Regions from separate parts of the Homo sapiens genome. Here region 2 is linked to region 1. The links are contacts of gene promoters, found by promoter capture Hi-C in blood cells and fetal thymus (Javierre and others, 2016). All regions are on one chromosome and are shown on one strand. Each heading gives the region's core, a stretch centred on a gene start or on the middle of the fragment in contact. The rest is flanking DNA. Distances are from core to core; before and after follow the strand shown. Region 1 holds the start of BICD1 (BICD cargo adaptor 1). Region 2 overlaps DENND5B (DENN domain containing 5B).

Evidence for each region. Contacts are between HindIII fragments. The CHiCAGO score rates a contact against its expected background, and 5 or more counts as called.
Region 2: a contact is called between a fragment that was not itself captured here and the fragment with the promoter of BICD1 in region 1, in 1 of 17 cell types (neutrophils). The highest score is 5.1, in neutrophils.

What each region holds. Positions count from the first base shown.
Region 1 is chr12:32,102,406-32,109,698 of GRCh38, reverse strand. It overlaps BICD1 (BICD cargo adaptor 1), which reads right to left and starts at 2,852. Exons shown (of 10, transcript NM_001714.4): 1 at 2,155-2,852. The coding sequence starts at 2,367. It overlaps BICD1-AS1 (BICD1 antisense RNA 1), which reads left to right and starts at 2,237. Exons shown (of 3, transcript NR_185992.1): 1 at 2,237-2,305; 2 at 4,926-5,023; 3 at 5,409-5,582. RefSeq lists enhancers at 1,245-1,882, 2,410-2,489 and a silencer at 2,850-3,329. The HindIII fragment of the contact is 11,162 bases long and covers 1-3,349 here.
Region 2 is chr12:31,571,276-31,578,568 of GRCh38, reverse strand. The region is part of intron 1 of DENND5B (DENN domain containing 5B); the gene reads left to right. Among named protein-coding and RNA genes, the nearest start is that of DENND5B-AS1, 15 kb to the left of the region's middle. RefSeq lists a silencer at 3,168-3,368 and an enhancer at 6,689-7,189. The HindIII fragment of the contact is 2,244 bases long and covers 3,311-5,554 here.

The sequences.
Region 1 (7,293 bases), core at 1,603-4,102:
ATACATTTTTATATAACTGTATAAACCAGTTTTTTAGGAATCTCGAATTTCACTTATGCTAAATGCAACTGAAAATAAATATATGAACAAGAATCGTTTAGTAAAAATAATGCTGGTAAATTTTTATTAACCTCCTGCTATATAGAACAAAATATATATTAAAATATTTATAGAAAAAATTTTAGTTGGTATTTGCATTATTCTGTATTAAGAAACCACAGTTACATTATTCCTACAAAACGTTTTTTTCACATTTTTCTCATTACTGCTGGTGAAACTAATACAGGTAGTTTTATTAACATCTGTCACTTCCTATACATCCTAATTTTCTTAGTATTTATCTAACACTAATCAATATTGACTAGTGAACCCTTGATAAAAGTGTGCCTTCTTCTAGTACAAACTGATTCTTTCATAAAATATTTCATGCCCACTGTGTGCTAGCTTTTGTGTTAAAGACTTGGGATGCAAAGCTCATGGTGTAGCAAAGGCAAAACACAATTGCATTAAGGTTTGCTATGCAAGGTAAGTGCAATGACAGAAATATCCCTAGAAGGATTGTTTAAATCAAGCAGCAAAGTCAGTAAGAGGTACATTTCATTAAATTAAGTCCATCTCCTTTATCAAGAAGGTGATGGCTTACCACTTTCTGGTTTGCACTTCCCTATCTTGGCAAAGCAGTGTTGATAGGTATAGACAATATCAAAACATCTCTGAGAATGACAGTCATCATCCTGCTTCCTCACTTCACAAGGTTTAGCATCACTGCATTTAAACATGTCAGCCTAATCTAAGTTGGAAAATATAAACAAGTCCAGCTGTTGTTAAGACCAGACAGGTACATGGTAAGTAAAATAGGAACCAGAAATTTACAGCCTGACACACAAAAATTAGATTCCTAGTTGGGATTTTTAATCATAGGTAGTACATTTATTTTTTGGTAGACAGGCATCCAAATAAAAATAAGACATATCTAAAAGTATAAATGCTTACCATATTACACACTAAATTGGAAGGCAAGTTGATTCAGTATGTCATAAATCACATCTTTTAACTGTAACAGCATAAAATAAATAATAGATTTTTGATATTATATGCCAAACAATAATTAACATTTAAATGTCAATATGCACCTAAAAATAAGGACTTGACACACAGAAAAGGAGTGTATATTACATTTAAATTTGTAAGTGGTTATTTGCTACCCATAGTGCCTCAAGAATCAGATAAAAAAGACCGAGTTACTTAAACAATATGTATGTTCTTAAGAGTGACTGATAGGAAATCAAAGCACGTTCATTGTTTTCTCCCATACATCCGACAGGCTTTAAAAGAGGCCAAATACCAAAAAACTAAAGAGACATTATACATCACCCATTTTTGATATTCTGGTTTTATAAATATATCATTTCAACCAGAAGAGCCTCATTTGAAATGCAACACTACCCACGTATTTGATATACACCACTCTTTCAGACTATTTGTAGGTGAGTTCAATTTTTTCTAGTCAGGGTGACCTCATAAGACTTGGACATGGCCCAGCCTCGCTCCGAGGTGAAATCAAGGCAGTGGGATCACCCAGCAAAGTTGTTTTTCTTCTGCAGCCCAATGACAAGAATGACTAAAGCCAAGCAGAATGAAGATTGCCTAGCCTTTGTCAAATGGGATTGGTGAGGAGTTCCCTCTCTCACCAAGGAGTGGTTACATCCAGAGGAAAGCTGAGGTGCCACACAGTCTAAATCCTGAAATTGTGGGTCCTCAGGCACAAACCTCATCACTTTTGTGGACTACGAAATTGTCGCTGAAACCTGGGTTTGAGATAACAGCGGTTTTGAGAAGTTTGATTTATACATTCCAACCCACTTGAATGTCGTCTTAGAGTGCTGAGACTTGATGACTCTTACTAATCTCCCTCCCCCGCAGGCCAAACAGCCATTGCCTCCCAAATTCCAGCTTATATATTCATTTCTTAGGCAATTTTTCTCTTGGGGGAGGAAACAATGGACTCTTTCAATCTTCTCTTACCAACAAAGGGCCCTAGAAGAAAAAACAGTCCTTTCAATCACCTCCTTTATGACTTCTTGATCATGATGAGTGGGCCTTGCGGGTGGGGGGAGTGAGGGCCAGGAAAGGGAGAGGTGACAGGCAACTCACCTCTTTGAGCTGCTCCAGCTCCTGTTTGAGGCTGTCGTACTCAGCCTCCAGTTCATCATACTGCTGTTTGAGGGTCAGCTTCTCCTCCAGCACCACCAGCCCGTACTCGGCAGCCTGGATCTTCTCGTGGGTGGTCTCCGTGAGCTCCTTGGTTAGCCTCTCTATCTCAGTCTTATAATGGTCCACCGTCTGCAATACCTCTTCTGCGGCCATAGCCCCGGTGGATGGAGGCAGGAGGGGGTTACGGGGTGGGGGAGATGGATGCGAAGCTGGCGGGGAAAGGGAGAAGGAAATGGGAAGGGATGGGTGGAAACGGAAAAGAAAGTGCGGCCGGATGAATGAGCAGCGCGATGCCCCGCCGGCTCTGGTGGCAGCGGCAGCTACACCGCCCGAGAAACTGACGAGAAATGCAACATGGAGAACAGGGCAGAGGGTCAGGGGCGAGGCGGCAAAGGCCGCCGCATGTGTCCTCGGGGCCGGCCCCTGCGTGCGGTCAGCAGCCGTGCGGCATGGCCCGGGCTGCGGCGGCCGCGGGTAGCGAGGGGCTCCGGATTCTGCTTATTCAGAGACGCCCGTCCGCCATGTCTCCCGGGCCGCGTCACTGCAGTCTCGCCCTGGGTCTGGCGCGCTCCGGCTCGCGGCTCGCTCTCTCGCTCCACCTGCTCCCTCTGGCCCTGCAGCAGCCGGTGCGGAATGATGCAGTCTCGGGGCCGGCTCCCTCCCTTCCCGCGTGGCGGCGGCTCCGAGCAGGGGGCGGGGAGCGGATGGAGTCAGCGCGGGGGGCGGAGGGAAGGACCAGACGGAAACATCCCGAGGCGCCTCCCGCCGGGCGCGCGGGCCGCCGCCCGCTGCACCGTGAGGCGCGCCAGGAGGAGGCGCAGGCGACGGGTCTGGGACTGGGAAGCGGTGGGGCGCGCGCGGCGGGGGAGCCTCCGCCCTGTCCGGCTCGCGGGGGCGGGAGCTCCTCCCAGGGCTTTGTCCCGGTGGCAGTAGAAGACCCCGAGAGCGGCGTGGGCGCCCGGGCTCTTTTGCTACGTCGAGGGCCGAAGCTCAGGAAACTGCCTGGAACGCTTTCTCCCGAGAAAAGCAAACAAAACTATCGCGGTCGCGGTCCGCGCATCCTCCTCGTCCCCTGGGCGCGCAGAAGGCTTTTTGGGCCACCTGCCCCCAAAAGACCGCTGGGTTTCCCAAAGCTTTCAAGACGCACCCCAAGGCGCCCTCCTCCGTCGTCCCCCTCTCTCCCTGCCTCTCCCAAGTCTGGCCTGGGCCACCTAACACTCTCACCAGATAACCTTACTATCCTCACAGGACAGTCCGCTAAATATTGCTCGCCCTCACCCAGCGTATCACAAGAGCGCTATCCACTCAGAAAAAAAATATCTCCACAATACATGCACCCAGGAAACCTCTAGCTAGGTACTGTATATCTTGCCCCAATAGTTTCCATCAAAGCACCTTACTCTGTGTCTTCAATAAAGGAAAACTGCTTGAAATTCCCTATATAAGATACCAACGATGCCCTGTAATAAGCATTTTTTAAACAATAAGAGCTAAGAGTTCTTGAGACCCATACCAAGCATTCTTCTAAGTATGTAACATGCGTTCTCTCCAATCCTAACAATGCTTTGAGGTAAGAGCCATTATCCTCAGTTTACAGGGGGTGAAAGGCAAAGGGAGATGTGATTTGTCCAAAGTCAGGCAACTCTGGAATCTTAACTCGGGAGCACTAAACGGGATCATTATGTTGGCTTCAGGTTCACTCATTACTCATACAAACCCAGCAACTACATATTACATGCTTTTAAGATAATCACATTAATCCATATGAAGAGTGATGATGAACGGTTACAAAAGGAGGTGAAAGCAAAGTAAGAGTGGAGTAAATGAAAGAGTGGAGAAGGGTCGAGAATCAAGAGGAAGAACGCAACATGAGAGAAAAGAAGCAATTTCTGTGTAACGGGAGGCTGTGAGACCCACAGATCAGTGGGTCTTTCCAGTTCCCTCTCTTCTTCTGCATGGCACCTATTCCAGAGCTGTTTCTCAGTGACCAGGTGATGAACACACATGCGTTTTCTAAGTTAGAAAGCAGGACTCAACTCTCCCATCATTGTGTACCTGGTAAAAAAAAAAAAAAAAAAAAAAAAGATGATTGTTGACCGGGCACAGTGGCTCACGCCTATAATCCCAGCACTTTGGGAGGCAGAAGTGGATGGATCATTTGAGGTCCGGAGTTCAAGACTAGCCTGGCCCACATGGTGAAATCCCATCTCTACTAAAAATACAAAAATTAGCCAGGTATGGTGGTGCACGCCTGTGATCCCAGCTACTTGGGAGGCTGAGGCAGGAGAATTGCTTGAATCCAGGAGGTGGAGGGTACAGATGGCACCACTATACTCCAGCCTAGGCAACAGAGACTCCATCTCAAAAAAAAAAAAAAAAAAGGACACTTGTTGATGGCGTGGGAGAAAAAGCATATGACAGTGCCCTTCCAAAGTTTCCACTAGCAGGCTGTCTGGATGTGTTTTCCATTGCTTCACAAACCAGACAAGTTTCCTTCTAAACGCCAGCGATCACAACAGAATATTCTCATGTGATTGTCTGATCTAAAAATAAAACAAAAGAATATTCTCTTGTGATTGTCTGATCTAAAAATAAATAAATAAAAGGAGAAAACATTCCAAATGTGCAGCCACCATAAATTCCAGCCTTGTAGAGAAGCGGATGATAATGACTACAACATCCGACCCATCTTTCCTTATCTCGCACTCCAGGTGGGAAGCCCCTCCTGTGTGCTCCCGTGGCATCTGACCTCTGACACGTTGATGAATGATGATGAACTGCTGAAAAGAGATGGAACCTGCAATTGCAGGTAGCTAACCTGCCTTCCCAGGAAGCCTCTGGCTGTTCCTCACTCTACAAACTGTAAGCATAGGCCTTCCAAAGGGATCATAAGACTCGCACTAGATTGCCTGTGCCTCCCTCTCCTTTGGATCAAACTAAGAACAGAGTTTGCCTCTGTGACTTTCCTTTTTGCTAAATTTCCATTGTGGTCCAGCCCCTATGCTCTATCCTGCCCCGTTTTTCTGATTGATACACTTTTGTCACTTGTCACTTTTGTCTGATTTCAGGCATGTCTTGCACACTCTGACACTTTAAGATGTTGCTTAGTTGAACTTTGATCCTTAAATGTTGGTATTTAACGTAAAGAAGATAAACTTATTTTCTTGTTTTTTTTCTCTTTTTTTCTGAGACAGGGTCTCCATCACTTAGGCTGGAGTGGAGTGGCATGATCATGACTCCCTGCAGCCTCAACCTCCTGGACTCAAGCGATCCTCCCACCTCAGCCTCCTGAGTAGCTGGAACTACAGATGAATACCACCACACTCAGCTAATTTTTTAAATTTTTGTAGAGACAGGGTCTGTCTATGTTGCCCAGGCTGGTCTCAAACTCCTGGGATCAAGTGATCCTCCCACCCTGGCCTCCCAAAGTTCTGGGATTACAGATGTGAGCCACCATGCCCAGCCAAATTTATTTTCCTATACACCATGCTGTTCCAGTACTGCATAGTTACAGTTCCCTCTTTTTTCGTATATGCCATATGTATTGCATATATATCAATGACAGGTATATAGAAAATAATTTCTTAAAGCATTCCTAGGCTGGGTGTGGTGGCTCATACTGGTAATCCTAGCACTTTGGGAGGCTGAGGCAGAAGGGTCACTTGAGGCCAGCAGTTCAAGACCAGCCTGGGCAACATAGCGAGACCTCATGGCTACAAAAAATTAAAAAATACTAGCTGGGCATGGTAATACATGCCTGTGGTCCCCAATACTTAGGAGGCTGAGGCAGTATGATGGCTTGAACCCAAGAGATTAAGGCTGCAATGTACTGATTGTGCCACTGTGCTCTAGCCTGGTGACAAAGCAAGACTCACCAAAAGAAAAGAAAAAAAGGCCAGGCTCGGTGGCTTACACCTGTAGTCCCAGTACTTTGGGAGGCCGAGGTGGGCGGATCATCTGAGGTCAGGAGTTCGAGACCAGCCCGACCAACATGGTGAAACCCCATCTCTACTAAAAATACAAAAATTAGCTGGGTGTGGTGGTGGGCGCCTGTAATCCCAGCTACTCGGGAGGCTGAGGCAGGAGAATCACTTGAATTCGGGAGTTGGAGGTTGGAGTGAGCAGAGATCCGCCACTGCACTCTAGCCCAAGTGACAGAGTGAGACTCCGTCTCAAAAAAAAGAAAAGAAAAAAAGCAAAAAAAAAAAGCACAAGCTAGTCTACTTGGGTCATATCCAACTTTGCCACTTACTAGCTGTGTGTTTCTCAGTTGTGTCATATCTAAAAAGGAGATAATAATATAATCTAATTATGAGATTGTTGTGAATAGAATAGTATCACACACATAAGCATTTTATATGTGCTTTTTAAAAGTTTTAAAAGAAAAACAAGGATAAAATTTAGGTAGAAAGAAGAAAAAAAGATAATCAGTAGAGATCTCTCTGAAGAAGTGATATTCATTTTATTATCTATGAGGAACAAAAAGGAGTCGGATATACAAAATGTGGGGGAGAAGCTTTTCAGGGAAAGGAAATAATGTGTAAAAGCCAAAGGCAGAAAAGAGCTTGTTGAGTGCAAAGAATAAAAATCTGAGAGGCTGCTGGGTGCAGTGGCTCATGCCTGTAATCTCAGCACTCTGGGAGGCCAAGGTAGGAGGATTATGTGAGCTCAGGAGTTCGAGACCAGCCTGGGCAACATACCAAGACCCCATTTCTACTAAAAAAAAAAAAAATTTTAATCGAACGAGCATGGTGGTGCATACCTGTAGTCCCAGCTACTTGGGAGGCTGAGGTGGGACGATCCCATGAGCCTGGCAGTGAAGGCTACAGTGAGCCATGATCGTGCCACTGCACTCCAGCCTGGGTGACAGAGCAAGACCCTGTCTCAAAAACAAATAAAAAAAAAAAAAAATGAAAGAGGCTGAGGATTAAGAAGCTCAAGGGAAATGGCCTAAGACTATATCAAGAAGTCAGGCAACATCAGAGAGATAGGCGGGAATTATACTTGCCTTGCAAGTCAGAATGAAGAATTTGGGTTTTATTCTCAGGGGAGGCCTTTGATGATTCTTTAGTCAGGAAA
Region 2 (7,293 bases), core at 3,183-5,682, 530 kb after region 1:
TACTGGGTGGGAGAGAAAGGTGGCATTATATGCATCAAACCAGTAATTGTGCATAGCCCCATACATAATGGGAAATCTATTTTATGCTACTGGTAAGCTACCGTTACTGATGAGCTATGAATAGTTTCCACATATTAATAAAGCCTTTTAGGAATATCACTGCAGAAGTAGTCAGTCTGTTTGCTTTACTTTCCTCTAGAAAACTATTTTGTGCATTATCTGAGGACACCCATGGGAGTGTGTGTCTCAACACTTTTGCTGATCTGGATTGTTTCTAGATACTTTTCTCAATTATACAATGTGACAGTGTTTTGGAAAGAGTATTTATAAATTACAATAAAAAATGATCCAAAAGGTGATCTGAGCTAAAGACGAACAAACAAAAATGTGATGGAGTTAATAATGTTAGGGTTGTAGTTTTTTTTTTTTTTTTTTTTTTTTTGAGACAGCGTCCCACTTTGTCCCCCAGGCTGGAGTGCAGTGGCATGATCTTGGCTCACTTCAGTCTCCACTTTCTGGGCTTACGCAGTACTCCTGCCTCAGTCCCCCAAATAGCTGGGACTATAGGTGTGTGTGCTACCACGCCTGGCTAATTTTTGTATTTTTTGTAGAGATGGGGTTTCACTATGTTGCCGAAGCTGGTCTCGAACTCCAGAGCTCAAGCTATCAGTCTGCCTCGGCCTCCTAAAGTGCTTAGGTTTACAGGCGTGAGCCACTGCACTGGACCCTGTAGAATTTTTTCATTCAGTTCTGCTGTGAAGACTGAAGTGCTGAATCCTTAAATATAGTTTGTGGACCTCTAGATTTTAAACTGTGAAACCCAGTTTAAAGATTTTTTTTTTTTTTTTTTTTTTTTTTGAGACAGAGTCTCGTTCTGTCGCCCAGGCTGGAGTACAGTGGCGCAATCTCAGCTCACTGCAAGCTCTGCCTCCCAGGTTCACGCCGTTCTCCTGTCTCAGCCTCCTGAGTAGCTGGGACTACAGGCGCCCGCCACCACGCCTGGCTAATTTTTTGTATTTTTTAGTAGAGACGGGGTTTCACCATGTTAGCCAGGAAGGTCTCGATCTCCTGACCTCGTGATCTGCCTGCCTCGGCCTCCCAAAGTGCTGGGATTACAGGCGTGAGCCACCGTGCCCGGCCTAAAGATATTTTTAAGTTTAAATATTTTTAAGTTTAAATCTATTTTTATAGATTCCCAGAGACCTTCTGATGAAAATCCACTTAATTTTGCTTAATTTTTTCCTGTCCATGCCTGGAGAATCCAGGTTTCTGCTTTGTAGACTATATTTTCTTGCCCCTCCCTTCTCTTCCTCTTTTCTAGTACAACATACTCTGTCATTTATTTAAACAGGAAATTATCCTATAGTTTGAGAAAACATCAATGTAGAAGTGATAATGTAAATTAAGTAAATTTCTGATCATCTTAATTCCTCAGTACAGCTTGACACAAGATTGCTCATAGACCAGGCTTTTGTACTTTTTTTCTCTAATCCCTTCTTCAAAGATCACCCTTATTTTCACCTTGGTCCTCATGATGCCACCTCTTATTGCTCTTTTGGTTGTCCCTTTTTGAGAAAAACCTGTAGAAGAAGAAATATTCTTTTGACAAAAAAGTTCTTGTATCATTATGTAAAACCTCATAGTGAAAAAGCTCGCTCTTTTTTTTTTTAGAAATAAGGTCTCACTCTGCTGCCCAGGCTGGAGTGCAGTGGTGTGATCATAGCTCACTGCAGGCTTGATCTCCCAAACTCCTGGGCTCAAGTGATCCTCCTGCCTCAACCTCCTGAGAAGCTGAGACCACGGCTGTGCGCCACCATGACCAGCTAATTAAAAAAAACATTTTTTTTTTGTAGAGATGGGTTCTTGCTTTATTGCTCAAGCTGGTCTCGAACTCCTGACTTCAAGTAATCCTCCCTCCTCATCCTACAAAAGTGCTGGGATTATAGGTGTGAGCCACCACGCCTGACCTGAAAAAACTCTTGGAAATGTCTGTCTGAATCTTCCATTTACCTTCATTTCTAGCAGAAACTGGGAAATTTCTTTTTTTCTTTTTTCTTTTCTTTCTCTCTTTTCTCTGTCTCTTTCTTATCTTTCATTATTATTACTTTTTTTTGAGATGGTGTGTTGCTCTGTCTCCCAGGCTGGAGTGCAGTGGCATGATCACGGCTCACTGCAACACACTCTGTCTCCCGGGTTCAAGCGATTCTGATGCCTCAGCCTCCCGATTAGCTGGGATTACAGGCGTCTGCCACTACGCTTGGCTAATTTTTGTATTTTTTAGTAGAGACAGAGTTTCACCATGTTGGCCAGACTGGTCTGGAACTCCTGACCTCAAATGATCCACTCACCTTGGCCTCTTAAAATGCTGGGATTACAGGTGTGAGCCCCTGTGCGCGCGGCCTCATTCTTCTTTTTTTTTTTTTTTTTGGAGACAGAGCCTTGCTCTGTCACACGGGCTGGAGTGCAGTGGCACAGTCATAGCTCACTGTAACCTCAACCTCCCTGGCTCAAGCAGTCCTTCCACTTCAGCCTCTTGAGTAGCTGGGACTACAGGCATGTGCCACCATGCCTGGTTAACTTTTTTCTTTCTTTCTTTCTGTTTTTTGAGACAGTCTTGCTCTGTCTCCCAGGCTGGAGTGCAGTGGCGTGATCTTGGCTCACTGCAACCTCCGCCTCCCGTGTTCAAGTAATTCTCATGCCTCAGCCTCCCAAGTAGCTGATATTACAGGCATGTACCACCGTGCCCTGCTATGTGCCTGGTTAATTTTTAAATTTTTTTGTAGACATGGGGTCACACTGTGTTGCCCAGGCTGTCTCGAACTCCTGGACTCAAGCTATCCTGCCTGGGCCTCCCAAAGTGCTGGAATTACAGGTGTGAGCCACCACATCCAGCCTGAAACTGGGCAATTTCTTATATCTCACATCTTTTCGGGTTTAGTACCTTTTATTTCCAGTATCTGTTCAGTTTTCTTCCTCTTCCTTCTCTTGTGGTCCTTTGAGAAAACAGGGACAATCTGCTAGTCTAAGGATATTCTTTCTAGATATTAAATTTATATCAATTTTTTATTGCTGTAGATCAGGACTAAAACAGCAAAAAGGAATTGTTTCCTTTGGGCAGAGATGTGACTTGCTTTTGAAGGGGGAAGTGGGTAGTCACAATCTACTCTTACGTAATTCCCTGATGTAGTCCTCCTTTGTTACAAGAATCAGCACCAACATTATCAATTGGAATTCTATGAGAATGACATACTAACTTTAATAAGAATACATTGAGCAGTAGGAATTTATGGCTGGTTATAGGTTTAAAGCTTGTAGGTGATTTACTTTTAGAACCACAGTGTTTTCTATTTTTAGGTTAAGTTATCCTCAACTTCAACTCTAACTTTTAAGGAAATATAAATGGCTGGGGTAACAAGATAACAGATTGTTTAAAACTATTTCCTATCTCCTGTCTCAAGTGTATGTATTTTCTTAATAAATAAACTTTTGTCAGGATTTCAAAATATTCTTGCTCAGCTCGAGGAAAATGAACTTTCACACTGGACTTAACTTGTTTTGTGCCATTGTTCACCAGAACAATGACTGTGATTTCACAGTTAAAACACAGGCATTGGTACCCTTGAGGTGACTATGTGAAAATAGGTTATTTTGTTTGGTCATTCTCACTCCTGTCTGGCAGTGCTTCATTTTTTCACTGGCAGCTCTAGCTACAATCTGATTTTAATTAAATATGTGAAAGCTGTGTGTACTAGAATGTAAAATCTTGTATATTCTTCATAGTGAAGGACTGACAGGACCCGTTTACAGTGAACCACTTGTAAATCATCTTGTTTCTGGTGGATGGGGCCAATGGGGAAATAATTAAAGTATTGAGTGTATGGAGAGGATAGAAGTTGGTAGAAAACAAAAACTTAAGAACCATACTGGTGATTCCAAAATTCCCCCTCCACCTCCCTTTTATTATTTTATTTTTTATTTTGAGGCAGAGTCTCGCTCTGTCACCCAGGCTGGAGTGCGGTGACGCAATCTCAGCTCACTGCAACCTCCGCCTCCCAGGTTCAAGCGATTCTTCTGCCTCAGCCTCTCGAGTAGCTGGGACTACAGGCATGCACCAGCATGCCCAGCTAACTTTTGTATTTTTAGTAGAGACAGGGTTTTGCTGTGTTGCCCAGGTTGGTCTCGAACTCCAGACTTCAAGAGCTCCACCCGCCTTGGCCTCCCAAAGTGCTGGGATTACAGGGAGCCACCGCGCCTGGCCACCTCCCTTTTAAATTATTATTATTATTATTATTATTATTATTTTTTAGAGACAGGGTCTCATTCTCTCACCCATGCTGGAGTGCAGTGGCGCGATCACAGCTCACTGCAGCCTCGATCTCCCGGGCTCAAGTGGTTCTCTTGCCTCAGCCTTCCGAGTAGCTGGGACCACAGGCACATGCCACCACACCTGGCTAATTTTTTTTTTTATTTTTGTAGAGACAAGATCTCACCGTGTTGTCCAGGCTAGTCTCAAATGGTCCTTGCCTCAAATGGTTCTTCCACCTTGGCCTCCCACTGTTGGGATTTCAGGCATGAGCCACTGTGCCTTTTTTTTTTTTTTTAAGAGATAAAGAGTCTCCCTTTGTTGCCCAGAATGGAGCACAGTGGCTATTAACAGGCCATCATAGCTCACTACAGCCTCAACCTCCTGGGCTCAAGGGATCTTCCTGCCTCAGCCTCCTGGGATAGCTGGGACTAATGGCGTGCACCACGGTGCCTGGCCAGAATTCTCTTTATCTCTTTGATACCTCTATCACCCTCTCTGCCACTTAGAACACAAAATTTGTGGTTAGAGTAGAAGTGGTAGAGGGATAGCCAGCAAATGCCCTAGACCCCAGAGCTTCTGTAGATTTAATTGTCCATTGAAGAATCATGGAGTCATTATAAGAGTCTCTTGCACAAGTGTTGAGCCTACTTAATGAATATTGAACGAAATTACATTCACTTTTCCCTGGAATGAAATCTCTAAGCAAGAGTAAAAATTTAGCTTTTTCTGAATGTGAACATAAGGCCATGAAGTAGACATACCTTGTTGAATCATTATGGGGCAGAGGCCCAGATATGAAATGTCTGTTGACATGTATGCACATTCAGTATTTATTTCAGTGCCTTATTGAACTCTATTGAATAGGTCAGGTGACAGCTTTTATCTGAACATCAGTCTTTGAGGGACAGTTGAAGCACTGGTATATGTGTGAGCGAGAGATTGGTGTTTTTTTCAAATGTAGAAGAGGTAACTTCTTACATTTTTTGCTCTTAAAAGTATATTATTTCATAATATTCAAATTTGCCTTGGGATTTAAAGTATAAATTGTCATTTTAGTAACACAATTGAATATTTTTTAATATCTCTGAACTAATGAGATACAGTTTTCTTTCAAGTGTGGGAACTATTTTGTACCCTGTTCCCTGACCTCTGCCTTTTGACCCTGTCACTTTGTGATGAGATTATAGATAGGCCTTTGAGCTTTTCTCCAGTCTGCTCAGGTTTCCTTACACAGCAACATATAAAGCTTTAAGGTCCTTTAAAAGATGCTCTTAGAATTAAAGAGAACATTCAGATTTAATTGGCATGAGTTTCGTAAATATTTTTTCTTTAAAAAGTCTTTTTCTTCCTTAATGCTTTCCTGTCCCCCAAATCTATTTAATTATGTTTTCTAAAATGGTATATTTCGGGAGAGGCTAACAATTAGAGCTTTCTAGGATAAGGAAATCCAAGAGAGATTCAACTGTTTATTCCCTATTTGTTGTCTCTAGGTATGAGAAGTTAAAATCCAGAATTAGAGGGTGTCATACAAGAGCAGGAGATTTTTTTCAGAGAGAATCAGTGCTTTAACCTTCTTATAATAAGCACTTTTTAGATAACACCTTTTAGATACTTTTTCAGATGCCTAAAATAGAGTAGGAAGAGAAACAAGGACAGAGAAAAGGAGACTGATTTCATTGGCTATGTGTTAATAACTCGTGAGTTTTTTTTTTTTTTTTTTTTTGAGAAAGAGTAAAATTAGTGACAAAAATAAGGGCTTGGGGATTTGATATTTATTTTGTTATTGTTTTACATCCTATCTTCAAGATTATCCAGAAAATTAAGTATTTGCTTTGTTTCAGACATTTTTTAATAGGACTTTCTGAGGAATGTCTGTTTTACGCACCATCAGAAAGATTTGTAACAATGAAGCTGTAGGACTTTGGTTTGCGTGGGGGCATTCTTGCTACTTAACAATGAGTGAGGGTAAATAAAATGATTGTTTTGAAATAACAAAAGGCAATATGTGCTTTATGTGCCTTTTTTTCTTTTTTTTTTTGAGACAGAGTTTCGCTCTTGTTGCCCAGGCTGGAGTGCAGTGTTGTGATCTCGGCTCACCACAACCTCCACCTCCTGGGCTCAAGGGATTCTCCTGCTTCAGCCTCCCAAGTAGCTGGGATTACAGGCATGCGCCACCACACCTGGCTAATTTTGTATTTTTAGTTGGGATGGGGTTTTTCCATGTTGGTCAGGCTGGTCTTGAGCTCCCGACCTCACATGATCCACCTGCGCTGGCCTCCCAAAGTGCTGAGATTACAGGCATGAGCCACTGCACCTGGCCTGGCAATATGTGCTTTTAAAAAATTGTAGCTTTTGGCTGGGTACGGTGGCTCTCGCCTGTAATCCCAGCACTTTAAGAGGTCAAAGCGGGCAGATCACCTGAGGTCAGGAGTTTGAGACCAGCCTGGCCAACATGGTGAAACCCTGTCTCTACTAAAAATACACAAAAATTAGCCGGGCGTGGTGGCTCCCCAGCTACTCAGGAGGTTGAGGCAGGAGAATCGCTTGAGCCCGAGAGGTGGAGGTTGCAGTGAGCCGAGAACGTGCCATGGCACTCCAGCCTGGGCAATGAGTGAAACTCCGTCTCAAAAAAACAAAAAAAAAAATTGTGGCTTTTAAATTATTTTTCTAAAAAAGAAAGAGTGAATGGATAAAATGGAGTTTTCTAATTCAGGTGTTTACTTTTGAGAGATAGAAATTAAATCCGTAGTTCTTGCAACTTTTTTTTTTTAAACCCAAATCCTTTCTACAATTAGTAATTAAAGTGAAATGAGAAAAGAAAGAGTAGCTTTGAATCTCACTCAGTTGCTTAATGCTAAAATAATCTATTAAAATTTTTTTTTCTATGGAAAGGGGAAAACACTAGTGACAAATAAGATGGGAAGACAGGAAGAAGCTAGTTAGCAGAAGAGGCAACTCAGTGACAAGATAAACTCTTGATCTCTATC